Linked DNA regions of Homo sapiens: region 1 is linked to region 2. Evidence: promoter capture Hi-C in 16 types of primary human blood cells and fetal thymus (Javierre and others, 2016). All regions are on one chromosome and are shown on one strand. The core of a region is centred on a gene start or on the middle of the fragment in contact, and the rest is flanking DNA. Distances in the headings are between cores, read along the strand shown.

Region 1 (6,540 bases), core at 713-3,212, 150 kb after region 2:
GGGTCAGCTCTGCTATGGCCAGGGCAGCTATCTTGTCCCAGCTCCCCTGTTCCTCCCATTTGGGGTCCTGAAAAGGGCAATCGTGAACCTGATGGAAGAATGGTGGGGTTCTGGACACAGCGACCCTGGAACAGGGCGCGGGGGAGGACCCTTTCCAGGACCACTCCCATCACATAATGTAGAGGCCACCTATGCTTAGCCCGGCCCTAACCCCAAAGGGGTCAGCCCCACCGGAATCCAGCCTATTGGCTCAGCCTGTCACCACAAAGGCCAGCTTCAGCCCAGATAACTGTTCTGGAAACAGAAAGAGCAGGGACCGCTCAGAAAGGAGATCTCTGTCCCTGTTTGAAAGCCTGGAGTTGAGGGGACAGTGCCCCGCCCCCCGCCCCCCGCAACTTGGGTTGCAGCTGTGGCCTAGTGAGCACGCAGCGCCCCCTGGTGGTCGAGGGGGAATTGCGGGTCCCGGGAAAGGGGGCGGTGTGCCAGCAACAGGGAGCAGGCAGCTCTGCAGCCCTGAACCATCCCTCCCTTGGGTGACTCTTTTGGAAATCATTGTTCCCCAGACAGGAGGTTCCTGAGGTTCATACTTGGGTCTCCAAGTCTTGGGTGCTCTGAAGACAGGATTTTAAATCCCCACTCCTACTATTGGTATGTGTTGCATCAGGGTGGCTTGAGCTGGCCTGGTACACAGTGGGCACTCACGTTTGCTGCCTGTTTGAGACCAAGTGCCTCAGGAGGTCTTGGAGGGTTGGCTGGGGCCCCAAGTCCCTGACCTCTGATTCCAGAGGCCAAGTTTAGCTGGGGAAGAAAGGGCAGAGGCAGTTTCCCTATGGACAGCTAGGCCCGGGTGTAGGATTCAGTTTCTGTTTCCTGACACCAAGGCTTCTCCCCAACTTCCCCATTGGGCTAGAGAAGGAAGAACACAGGGTGACATGGCCAGCTGGAGGTTACTGGCCCACAGATAGGGAGTCAGGGTACGGATGGGCAATTCCTGGAGCAGATTATGGTCAAAATAGTGGAAATCCCCAATCACAGGCCAAATGTTTAATTCTCAGAGCCATAGAATCCATAACTAATGCTTATTGGCTTTGACATGGGCAGTAGAAATTTCACACTTCATTCCTTAATCTGGCTCTAAATGCTTCTGGCTGGAGTGCTCACTCTCCAAACTGTGCTGGACAGCACCAGAAGCCCTCCTGTGGACGGACGAAGTGGTGATGGATGAAGTGGAATTGTGCTGGGGTTAGAGTAAGGAGAGATTATCGTTGGGCTGGGCTGGGGCTGAGGTCAGGGTGATGATCAGGTTGGAATTCTGGAAGCAAATTAAGGCTGGGATTGGGGTGGACATTGAGGTTGAGTGATGGGTGGGGGTAAGGGTGAAGGTTGGAGTTGGGTGCAGGTGATGGTTAAGATACGGTGGAGGCTGGGTTGAGATGAGGATGATAGAGTCGGAGTTGTGGTTAGGGTTGGGATGATGGATGGTTGGGATTAGATGAGATGAGTAAATGGTTAGGGTTGGGGTGCAAGTGAGGTGAGGGTGAGATAAGGTTGGAATAGGGGCTGGGGCTGGGGCTGAGGTAGGGTCAGAGCAGGGTGATGGTCGGGACTGGGATTGGGATGCAGGTTGGAAGGATTTGGGGGTGGTGGAAGGGTTTCAGTTGAGTCCATCTTTGATTAGTGTCTTGGACTTGGGTTGGTTTGGGGTCCACCACTCGCACCCAGATGGAGCCCCCCCCCGACCCCTGCCCCTATCCCGCTCAGCCAGTTTCAGCCCAGCCCCGCTCCTAATGCTCCACTCACCCTCTGGGCCCAGGGACCAGGGACAGGGGTACCTGCTCCACAGAAGGAAGTGGCTGCGGCGGTGCTGGACCTGCGGAGAGGAGAACAGGAAGGACGGCCAAGAGCTCCTGGTGCAGCTGGCTCCCCAGGGCTCTGCCGGCTCAAGAGAGAAGGATCCCGTATCAGGGGCTGCTTCCTCTTTCCCAAAGCCTCAGCTCTACTGTCCAACCCAGAGGCTGGTCAGGGAGGCAGCTGCAGGCCTTGCGCAATGCCAAAACGGGAAAGACCTCCATAGGGGAAGGCCCTCGGCAAGGCCAGGGACTTAGGGACTCCAGCAAGCAGAAGTGGGACCGCTGCAACGCTGGAGCCTCCCCAGGCAAAGTGAGAAATGGAGTGGGGGACTCCCATTCACCAGCCAAATCCACACCCCACTCTCTCTGAGCCCCTTAGGGAGGCTGGGGGAGGTGGAAGGGGGCTTCCTGCACACAGCTCTCCTCCCTGACACCTGAGAGGGAGGCGCGCCCAGCCTGGGGTGGGGATGCACTACACGATGCCCAGACCAAGGCAGTTATTCTCCAAGCCATTCAGGAGCCTCCCTGTACCACTGAGTACTCTTAAGAACCCCCAAGAGGCAGTCCCGTGTTGTGGGGGACATAAGGCCCCAATGTCCAGGACACTCCTCAGGTTTTCTCTTTCCCCTCTCACTGTCCTGTACGTTTTTTGGTTTTTGGCTTCTTGTTGTTGGTTTTTTTCTTTTTGTTTTGTTTTTGCTTTTGAGATGGAGTCTCACTCTGTCGTCCAGGCTGGAGTGCGGTGGCACAATCTCAGCTCACGGCAACCTCCACCTCCCGAGTTCAAGTGATCATCTTGCCTCAGCCTCTCGAGTAGCTGGGATTACAGGCATGCACCACCACATCCGGCTAATTTTTGTATTTTTGGTAGAGACGGGGTTTCACCATGTTGTCCAGGTTGGTCTTGAACTCCTGACCCCAAGTAATCTGCCTGCCTCGGCCTCCCAAAGTTCTGGGATTACAGAGGTGAGCCGCTGCACCCGGCCACTATCCTATACCTTCACCCCCACCTTGGGACAGGAAAGGAAAGCCCCCACCACAGCTAGTTACTGTTACATTACTGCAGCCCATCTTATTGAGGGCCTAGTTTGTGCAGGCACTTGACATGTGAAGCAGATGTTAATTGCTCCAAGCAATCCCAGATACAAGCAACAAGACTTTTTTTGGTTTTTGTTTGTTTGTTTGTTTTTGTTTTTTGAGACAGTGTCTTGCTCTGTCGCCCAGGCTGGGGTGTCCTGGTGCAATCTTGGCTCACTTTGGCTCACTGCAGCTTCGAAATTCTAGGCTTAAGCAATCCTCCTGCTTCAGCCTCCTAAGAAGCCGGGATTACAGGCGCTTGCCACTATGCACGGCTAATTTTTTAAGTTATTTTGTAGAGACGGAGTCTCCCTATGTTCCCAGGCTGGTCTCAAACACCTGGGCTCAAGTGACTCTCCCACCTCGACCTCCCAAAGTGCTGGAACTACAGGCGTAAGCCACCACTCCTGGCCATTTTTTTTTTTAATTTCACAACTCAAACTTAATTCAACTCAGTCCCTGCCTACCTGTACTGGTGGGGAGCTGGCCACAGCAAATTAGGCCCCTGTACCCTGAGGGCAAGGCCACGTGTGCAGGTGTAAAAGGATGTGAAACCCTAAATCAGGGTGGATCCAGAATCGCAGGCCATGGTGCCCCAAAGCAGATGTCTGGTGACATTCCACCCTGAAATGCTCAGGCTACAGAGATATTAGGTCTCTATCACTCTGTTCCTCTTTATAGCTCCTGTGTCCACTCCTATGCTTGGGCCATTTCCTCTTTCGGCCAAAACACAAAGGGTTCATCCCATTACTTCCTCCCTCAACAGCTGGTCCGGAGACACCCAGCTCTAGGCCTGTGGGGTTGTGACACATGGGTACCAATCCTTCAGTCCACTGGGACTCTATACATCCACCCCTTGGCTTCATGGTGGGAAAGCATCCCTTGACTTTGACCTTAGTCATATGACTTGCTCTGGCCAATGGATGTGCACGGACATGACACAAACTAAGTCTTGAAACGTACTTAAGCAGTTTGCCTTTCCCCCTGAATTTCTGTCATTGCCATGCAAGGGGCAGGCTCCAACTAACCTGCTGGTCCAAAGAGGATGACGAACACATGCAGATGACCTGAATCAGACCCATGGATTGAAACAAAACTCAGCTGAGCCCAGCCTACGTCCACCAGACCAGTCAACCTGTGGATGCGTGAATTTATTGCTGGATGCTGCTGAGAATTTTGTGGCTACATTAGCAAGATGATACAAGGCCTAAGTCCCAGAACAACACACCCAGAACTTGCTTACCTTTCCTTAGCATGAGGAGAGCAAAGACTTGTCTACCTTGATTAGTCAGGGAGCACTGCTTCCTGTCATTTCCTTGAGTATACAGCAAACTAGGTAAATAAATAAAAATAACTAGGTAGGCTGGGCACGGTGGCTCACGCCTGTAATCTCAGCACTTTAGGAGGCCGAGGTGGGCAGATCGCTTGAGGCCAGGAGTTCAAGACCAGCCTGGTCAACGTGGCGAAACCCTGTCTCTACGAAAAATACAAAAATTAGCTGGGCCTGGTGGCAGGCGCCTGTAGTCTCAGCTACTCAGGAGGCTGAGGCACGAGAATCGATTGAACCCGGGAGGTGGAGATTGCAGTGAGCCGAGATCACACTACTGCACTCCAGCCTGGATGACAGAGCGAGACTCTGCCTCAAAATATTTTAAAAAATGTAATTTCTCAGTAGGTCACACTGTTACACATTCATCTAATAACAATTATTCTTTTTCTTTTTTTTTTTTTTTTTTGGAGATAGGGTCTCACTGTCACCCAGGCTGGACAGGCTGGAGTGCAATGGCACAATCTCGGCTCACTGCAACTTTGACCTCCTAGGCTCAAGTGATCCTCCTGCCTCAGCCTCCCAAGTTGCTGGGACTACAGGTGAGTACCACCAGACGCAGCCAATTTTTGTATTTTTTTGTAGAGATGGGGCTTCACCATGTTGCCCAGGCTGGTCTCACACTCCTGAGAGTTCCCAGTCAAGTGATCCACCCACCTTGGCCTCCCAAAGTGCTGGGATTACAGGTATGAGCCACCATACCCAGTGAATTATTCTCGTTCCAGATAGGAAAACCAAGTCATAGGGAGGTTAGAGAATTTGCCAAAGACAAAACTTTTTGGTTGAAAAAAAATAAGTTTTGCTACAAGTATAGAAAACACCAAATAACGGTGTTTTAAATAAAATAGAAGTGTTTCACCCTCTCCCTCAAGTAAGTGTTGGCATCCAAGATGATATGACAACTCCACAATCATGAAACTAGATCCCTTTTTATTTTTTGGCTCAGTCATTGTCAATGGGCTGCTTCCAGTCATTGTCCAAAGTGGCTGCTTGCGCTCCAGCCACTGTATCTGCATTCGGGAAAGCAGGATGGAGGAAAGGACAAAGTAGGCCATGCCCTCTACTTTAAGATAACTCCTTAAATTGCTGATGTGGTGGGTCACTCCTGCAATACCAGCCACTCAGGAGGCTGAAGCAGGAGGTTCACTTGAACCCAGGAGCTTGAGGCTGCAGTGAACTATAATTGTGTCACTGCATTCCAGCCTGAGTGACAGAGTGAGATCTTGTCTCTTAACAACAACAAAAAAGGTAATTCTTTAAATTGTACACTTTATTGCTGCTTATATTCCACTAGAAGCTAGAAGTTAGTCACATGGTCTTAAGTCTTTATTCTAACAGGTGATGTGCCCGAGTGAATCCTGGGGGCCCAGTGCTAAGAAGTAGAGGGAGATGAAGCCCTGCCCTCCTGTGGAGCAACCAGGACCTTAATTCAGTCATTCATTCCTTGGACCTACCCAGATTCCAGCCTCAGGCCCCTGCCCACCTCCTTGCCAGTATCTCTGCAGAGCCTCCTGCCTCCCCCAGAGGGTGCCAGAGCCCTCTGCTTCCTCAGCCTTCAGACCCACTTGCTGTGTCTCAGGTGGGGACAACTCAGTCTATAGAGGCCCAAGGGAGATCTTTGAGACCCATACTGTAGTCAGCTTGGGGCAGATGGGAGTCATGTAGCTCACTGGCTAAAAGCCTAGGTCCTGCATAGAGCTGGGTTCAAATCCAGGCATATCCATCACCTGCTCTACGATCCCAGGAGTCACTCAATGACTCAGAAGCTAGAGTCCTCTGGAAAGCTTGTATGAAGAGTTCCCAGGGCCTGGAACATCAAAAGAGCTCTGAGAATGTTGGCTCTGCTGTTGCTTCTCTTATTGGGTATCTGAAGGCCGTACTCTCCTCTCTCCTCCACCCGAGGTGACCTCTACTCTCATAGCCACACCCTGGACCCTCACTCATTCAGTCACCTCACCCAGTCTGTCATCTGTCCCTCTGGCTCTCCTCTCCTGTTCATGCATCTTGTACTCACCCACTTCTGTCCCTGAGTGTTTCAAGGCTCTGGGGTTTTCAGAGACACTGAAGGGACCTCCCTCCTCAACACAACCACAAGGTCTAGGTGGAATGACCCACTAAGGGACCGGCTCTGAAGCCAGAGACTTCCAGGGAAAGTCAACAAGCCCAAGGATGCCCGTTACAAGAAAGTTAAAAGACCCATGTACATGTCCTCCCGTTTTATTCCCTGCTCAGGGTCTGGGCATACAGTGGAACACATGCAGTCCCCAAAGGACACCGTCTGTACAG
Region 2 (6,171 bases), core at 298-2,797:
CATGGAGTATATTACACACCCAGGGTGCCCTTGTGCAAGGGGGTTACGGCCATAGCAGTGTTTACGACCATAGGACCAGGGCCCTATACGTTCATGGTGGCTACAAGGCTTTCAGTGCCAATAAGTACCGGCTTGCAGATGATCTCTACCGATATGATGTGGATACCCAGATGTGGTGGGTACTTTTTCTTGAGCTTTCACTTTAAGGTGTAAATTCTGTAGAGGCAATTGTGGAGAAAATATTGTGCTATCTTTTTGTTTTCATGCCTGGCAGATAATTCTGTTCGGCATTATATATAGAGAAATTGGGAAATAAACAGAGGGTAATAAAGTAGCTAGTATTTATTTTGTTACGTTATTCTGTAATTCTGTAGCAGGTTGGTTAGAAAATACTTAGAGTTTTTTAACAAATGTAAAGCAAATTTGAGTTACGAAATAATGTAATTATAAAGCGATGGTTTCTCCTCTTTTTCCTCACATGTTTGATACCTTGCTATGGGTACTGTTTTATATTCTGTCATAAAAATAATCATTTTTAGTAGCTGTGCAATACTCCATTTTGTGGGTATGCTGAGACTATGCAGGTGAAAGTTTTGGTTTCTTTCTAGTTTTTATGTCATTAAGAAACCATTATGCATTAAGCTTCTGTCAATATTTCACATGATTTCTGCCCAGAAACTGGAATTATATAGCTACGGGGTATGAAGAGTTTAAGGTTCTTAATATATTTTGCCAAAACTCTTACAGGTCTTTAAAATTATCTGTATTTATTGTTGAAAAACTTACTTTTATGTAGGGAAAACTCTGGAAGGATTTGTACATTTGGGTCTGAGGTTAATAAAGTGGTTGTGCTTGCATTAGCAGATACATAAATATTCTTTAAAAACTAACCTTGTATTTATTATTTCTAAATAAACTCAAAAGGACCATTCTTAAGGACAGCCGATTTTTCCGTTACTTGCACACAGCTGTGATAGTGAGTGGAACCATGCTGGTGTTTGGAGGAAACACACACAATGACACATCTATGAGCCATGGCGCCAAATGCTTCTCTTCAGATTTCATGGCCTATGACATTGGTAAGTTTCCCAAAACCATTTTCTCTTCAGGCATCTTTTTGCCTATACTATAAGCAGCATTTAAAAGGAGACTGAAAATATTGCCAGTTCAAAATGATCAGGCCATTTGAAAGAGGTCCAAATGGTATTTTTTATATTCATTTGACTAATGTTACACATCTGGTAAAAATTATTTCTACATTAAATTCTTTTTGAAATCACTCCTGTTAATTGCTTGAATGCTAATTTTTAAGGCTGAGTTGAGGTGTCTAGTCTCTCCTTTGTCATGTTATGCCTACCTGGTAGTGTTACATAGTTGCAACCACCAGCATTGTGTTAAAATTGGTTCACGTATTAGCTTTATCTCATTCCCTAGAAAACTGGTTTCTCACATGGTCTTGGTGTGGCAATATACCAGACCAGAAGAGGGCAGTATTTGTTCATGCAAAGCAAATGCATACCGGATGATCTCTTTCATAAAAATTGTCAGATGTTCATTTTAAACAAATTATTATTTTTTTGATTGTGGTAAAATACACATAAAATTTACCATCCTAACTATATTTAAATGTCTAGTTTAGTGATACTAAACACATTCATAATGTTATAAATCCATCACCGCCATCCATCTTCAGAACTGTCTTCATCTTGTAAGACTGAAGCTGTATACCCATTAAACAATAATGTCCCATTTCTTCCTCCCCACAATGCCTGGCAACCACTATTCTACAGTCTGTCTCTGTGATTTTGACTATTCCAAGTCAGACATTCGTTTTTAACAGACATTTGTGTGCCAGCCACTCAGTTTGTACATTGAGGAGATCAGATGAATAACTTAAAGCCCTTAGCCTCAAAGTAGAAGAGGTAGAGAAATGAGCAGACAATAGAATTGCACTTCAGGGTGTTTCTGGCTGAAAAGAATGTATGAGAGCACCTCTGAGTACCCTTTAAGTCATGGAGGGTAGAGTGATAAACAGGGAACACTTTCTTAAGGAGGGGCCATCCTCTCTGGGTCCTTGGGGACACTAGGTGTCAGGTAGGTGAAGTTAGGCAGCACTCTCCAGGCAGAGGAAACCCAGTTTGCAGAGACACAGAGGTGGAAAAGACCGGCACATATTTAAGGGCTCAAAGAGTGAGACACTGAGTGTGAGGTTGGCATGGTATAGCAGCACCAGTTGGTATTAGATCCAGAAGAGAAGTTGCTAGTATGGGTCACAACAAGGGAAAATTAATCAATCTATGGGATCTAGGAAAGGACTTTGTAAAAATTAGGTGACATTTAAATTTCTTGAAATTTCATTTTCCACCTTTATTTTTCCATTTTAGCTACTAAATTTGAGCAAATCAATATAGAAAAGAGTGGAAAATAATTATGAAACCCATGTTTTGCTGACATAAGCTTTGTAGAATGTAAAATTTGCTTGCTTTAAAAAACATTCTTGGCTGGGCGTGGTGGTTCATGCCTGTAATCCCAGCACTTTGGGAGGCCCAGGTGGGCAGATCACGAGGTCAGGAGATTGAGACTATCCTGGCTAACACGGTGAAACCCCATCTCTACTAAAAATAAAAAAAATTAGCCAGGCATGGTGGCAGGCGCCTATAGGCCCAGCTACTTGGGAGGATGAGGCAGGAGAATGGCGTGAACCTGGGAGGAGGAGCTTGCAGTGAGCTGAGATCACACCACTGCACTCCAGCCTGGGTGACAGAGCGAGACTCTGTCTCAATTCTAGTGCATCAAACTGATAGGCAGTTGGGTGAGTGATCCAGATGTCATGGATTTCGGGTGCGTTTGCTAGTTAGAATTGTGGTATGATCCCGCCTTTCTTCCATGCCCTGTTGCTCTGCTGCTGCTTCATTTTAACCCAGAAATGATGTTGTAACTGAGAAAATTGAGAGGCATGTTTTATGAGGTTCTCTTTGTTGTAGTATTTTTCCCAAAGAAAATGTCAGGTCCTGTTGATTAGAAATGGTAGTCCGTTTAAAAATATATTTTTCTTTCTCCTAGCCTGTGACCGCTGGTCAGTGCTTCCCAGACCTGATCTCCACCATGATGTCAACAGATTTGGCCATTCAGCAGTCTTACACAACAGGTAATTGGAGAAGTGATTGCTCCTTTTCTTTTGTGTTTAAAATGAAAATAAAGGGCCGGGCACGGTGGCTCACGCCTGTAATTCTGGCACTTTGGGAGGCCGAGGCGGGTGGAATACGAGGTCAGGAGATCAAGACCATCCTGGCCAACATGGTAAAGACCCATCTCTACTAAAAGTACAAAAATTAGCTGGGCTTGGTAGTGCGTGCCTGTAATCCCCCCTAGTTGGGAGGCTGAGGCAGGAGAATCGCTTGAACGAGGGATGCTGAGGCAGGAGAATCACTTGAACCAGGGAGTTGGAGGTTGCCGTGAGACGAGATCGCGCCACAGCACTCCAGCCTGGCAACAGAGCAAGACTCTGTCTCAAAAAAAAAAAAAAAAAAAAAAAAGAGAAAAGTAAAGTGGAATTGGACTCAACATATTATTCACAAGATTCCCTCATCCCAGTAGTTTTTTTACAGGATTATGTGGGTATAAATTTTCTGATTTATGTTTAAAATATTTGATGTGGAGGTGAATTACTTTGAATGCCATGTTTATTGATCTGGTTTTGTTAGCACGCAAGAGCATGCTTTTTGGTGTGGTCTGAGTGCCTGGGGCAACAAAAGTTACGTGCATGTCATTGTCTTATGTCCTTTGTTATTGTTAGTGGTATTTAGGTTGTCAAGTTCCTAGTAGTTGTATCTGAATAGTAAGAAGTTTGGAAAAGAGGAGAGAGGGCACTTCAGATGGGGGGATAAGGTAGGAGAACAGAGGTGGAGAGATTGTGAAGTTTAATATAGCTCAAGTCTGTAGGCTCTGGATAATCAGAAGTCTGCAGTTCATTGCATTTTATCGCTCAAAAATGCCTGGCCCAAACTACCAGAGCTCTTCAAAAAATCGGCCCTTGGAGAAGTCTCAGTCAAATAAGGGAGATTCAGAGTGGCCACTCTACTTGTTCCTTACAGTGTGCTTTAAAGATTTTTAAGAAGTTAAACAGCCTAATCACATTATTAATTTTTCTCATTCAGTTTCTGCTATTACTACTGCTGTCTACTTTCCCTTTTTTAAAATTCTAAGCCATATAAATCCTAAGGATGTTTAAGCGTTATAATGCCTGCATCATGTTAGAATTCCTTTGGCTTTTGAAATTTCTGTTGTAACGATGGAAGACAGATGAGGTAATTTCACTTAGATTAGGAAAGATGAGAGGCCGGGCACGGTGGCTCACGCCTGTAATCCCAGCACTTTGGGAGGCCGAGGAGGGCCGATCACTTGAGCCCAGGAGTTCCAGACCACCCTGGTCAACATGGCAAAACCCCCGTCTCTTCCTAAAATACAAAACAATTAGCCAGGTGTGGTGGTAGGCACCTGTAGTCCCAGCTACTTGGGAGGCTGAGGCAGGAGAATCACTTGAACCCAGGAGGCGGAAATTGCAGTGAGCCAAGATTATGCCACTGCATTCCAGCCTGGGCGACAGCGAGACTCCATCTCAAAAAAAAAAAAAAAAAAAAGGAAAAGTGAGAAGGTGACATATTTTGGAGATGTTGTGAAGGAAGAGTTGAGACAATTTAGGAACTAGCTACTAGGAAAAGGTGCTATCTTATATAAGGTAATTATTTCGTTTTTTAGCAATGTGTATGGTTTTACTATGAGAACATTTGACAGCTAGAGACTAAAATGGAAGGATTTCTGGCCACCTTGCTAATTTGAAGTGTTATTATAAATCATAATCTTGAACTTCCTCAGTACAGAAGACCCTTAAAGCTTTCTAGCAAGTGCCTCTTGAGATTTTCATCTGAAACGCAGTGGGACCATTTTGTCATTATCATGCCTGTGGGAGCCTGGCCTCAACTGTCTTCGTTTGTGTTCCTAGTTCTCCTAGCACAGGATTTGGCACATAATAGACATTTGCTAAATGGCAGGTATTAGTACAGTCATAACTAGCAAACAAATGAATTTTTTATAAAACATTCTTAGGTTTTATTCAAACTCAGAGAAGTTGAGACTTTACCATAAAATATAATTTAATCATGAGTCAAAATTGGGAATGCCTTGCCTGAGTTGTAATGTTTTCATTTTATGTGATTCCAGTGGTATGTTTGAACCCTGATATGTAAGTATCTGTGTGTGTGAGACAGGATTGGGTAGGTGGCAGGAGACCCTGAGGGAGGCCAGCTACTAAAAGGCCATAGTTTTGGTTTAATTTTATGAAATAATTTACTGAAAAAGAAACTTCGATTCACAGCATTTCTTCATGCTTTAAGTGGATCAACAGCATTGGGTGAGCTGTGCCTTCCTTGGTTTTCATTGAGGTTTTGAGGGAGGCAGGAAGGAGGAGGAGAGATGGCTGTGACATACCAAGGCGGCAGGAGATGCAGCTGTGCCTCTCAGTTGCCTGCTCCATGTGTCTCTGAGAGACTCTCCCTAACTTTGCAGAGCCCCTGTGCAACCAGATGGATTCACAATTGCTGAGAACACCAACTGTACTGGGAAGAGGAGGTTGCTTATTTGGTTTAAGCAACAAATTAACTAGTTGAATCTAGCCTGCTTAATGTGGTACTGAGTAAGCCTATAGCAAGGTAAAAAATGAAACCTGGCCGGGCGTAGTGGCTCACGCTTGTAATCCCAGCACTTTGGGAGGCCGAGGCGGGTGGATCACGAGGTCAGGAGATCAAGACTATCCTGGCTAACACTGTGAAACTCCATCTCTACTAAAAGTACAAAAAAATTAGCTGGGCGTGGTGGCGGGCGCATGTAGTCCCAGCTTCTCGGGAGGCTGAGGCAGGAGAATGATGTGAACCCCAGGAGGTGGAGCTTGCAGTGAGCTGAGATCGCGCCACTGCACTCCAGCCTGGGCAACAGAGCGAGACTGTGTCAAAAAAAAAAAAAAGAGAAAGAAACCTTATATTAATTTTTTAGTTTTTGAAATCTACCAGTAAATATTTCAGATTAGGCCAGGCATGGTGGCTCATGCCTGTTATCCCAGCACTTTGGGAGGCTAAGGCAGGAGGATCACTTGAGCCCAGGAGTTTGAGGCTGCAG

What was found. Contacts are between HindIII fragments. The CHiCAGO score rates a contact against its expected background, and 5 or more counts as called.
Region 1: the fragment with the promoter of SIGLEC1 here is called in contact with a fragment that was not itself captured in region 2 in 2 of 17 cell types (megakaryocytes and endothelial precursors); the score reaches 9.6 in megakaryocytes.

What each region holds. Positions count from the first base shown.
Region 1 is chr20:3,710,638-3,717,177 of GRCh38, forward strand. It overlaps SIGLEC1 (sialic acid binding Ig like lectin 1), which reads right to left and starts at 1,963. Exons shown (of 22, transcript NM_023068.4): 1 at 1,833-1,963. RefSeq lists a silencer at 5,834-5,893 and an enhancer at 6,249-6,418. The HindIII fragment of the contact is 9,565 bases long and covers 1-6,036 here.
Region 2 is chr20:3,562,285-3,568,455 of GRCh38, forward strand. It overlaps ATRN (attractin), which reads left to right. Exons shown (of 29, transcript NM_139321.3): 9 at 1-175; 10 at 925-1,079; 11 at 3,064-3,148. Among named protein-coding and RNA genes, the nearest start is that of ATRN, 94 kb to the left of the region's middle. The HindIII fragment of the contact is 1,815 bases long and covers 641-2,455 here.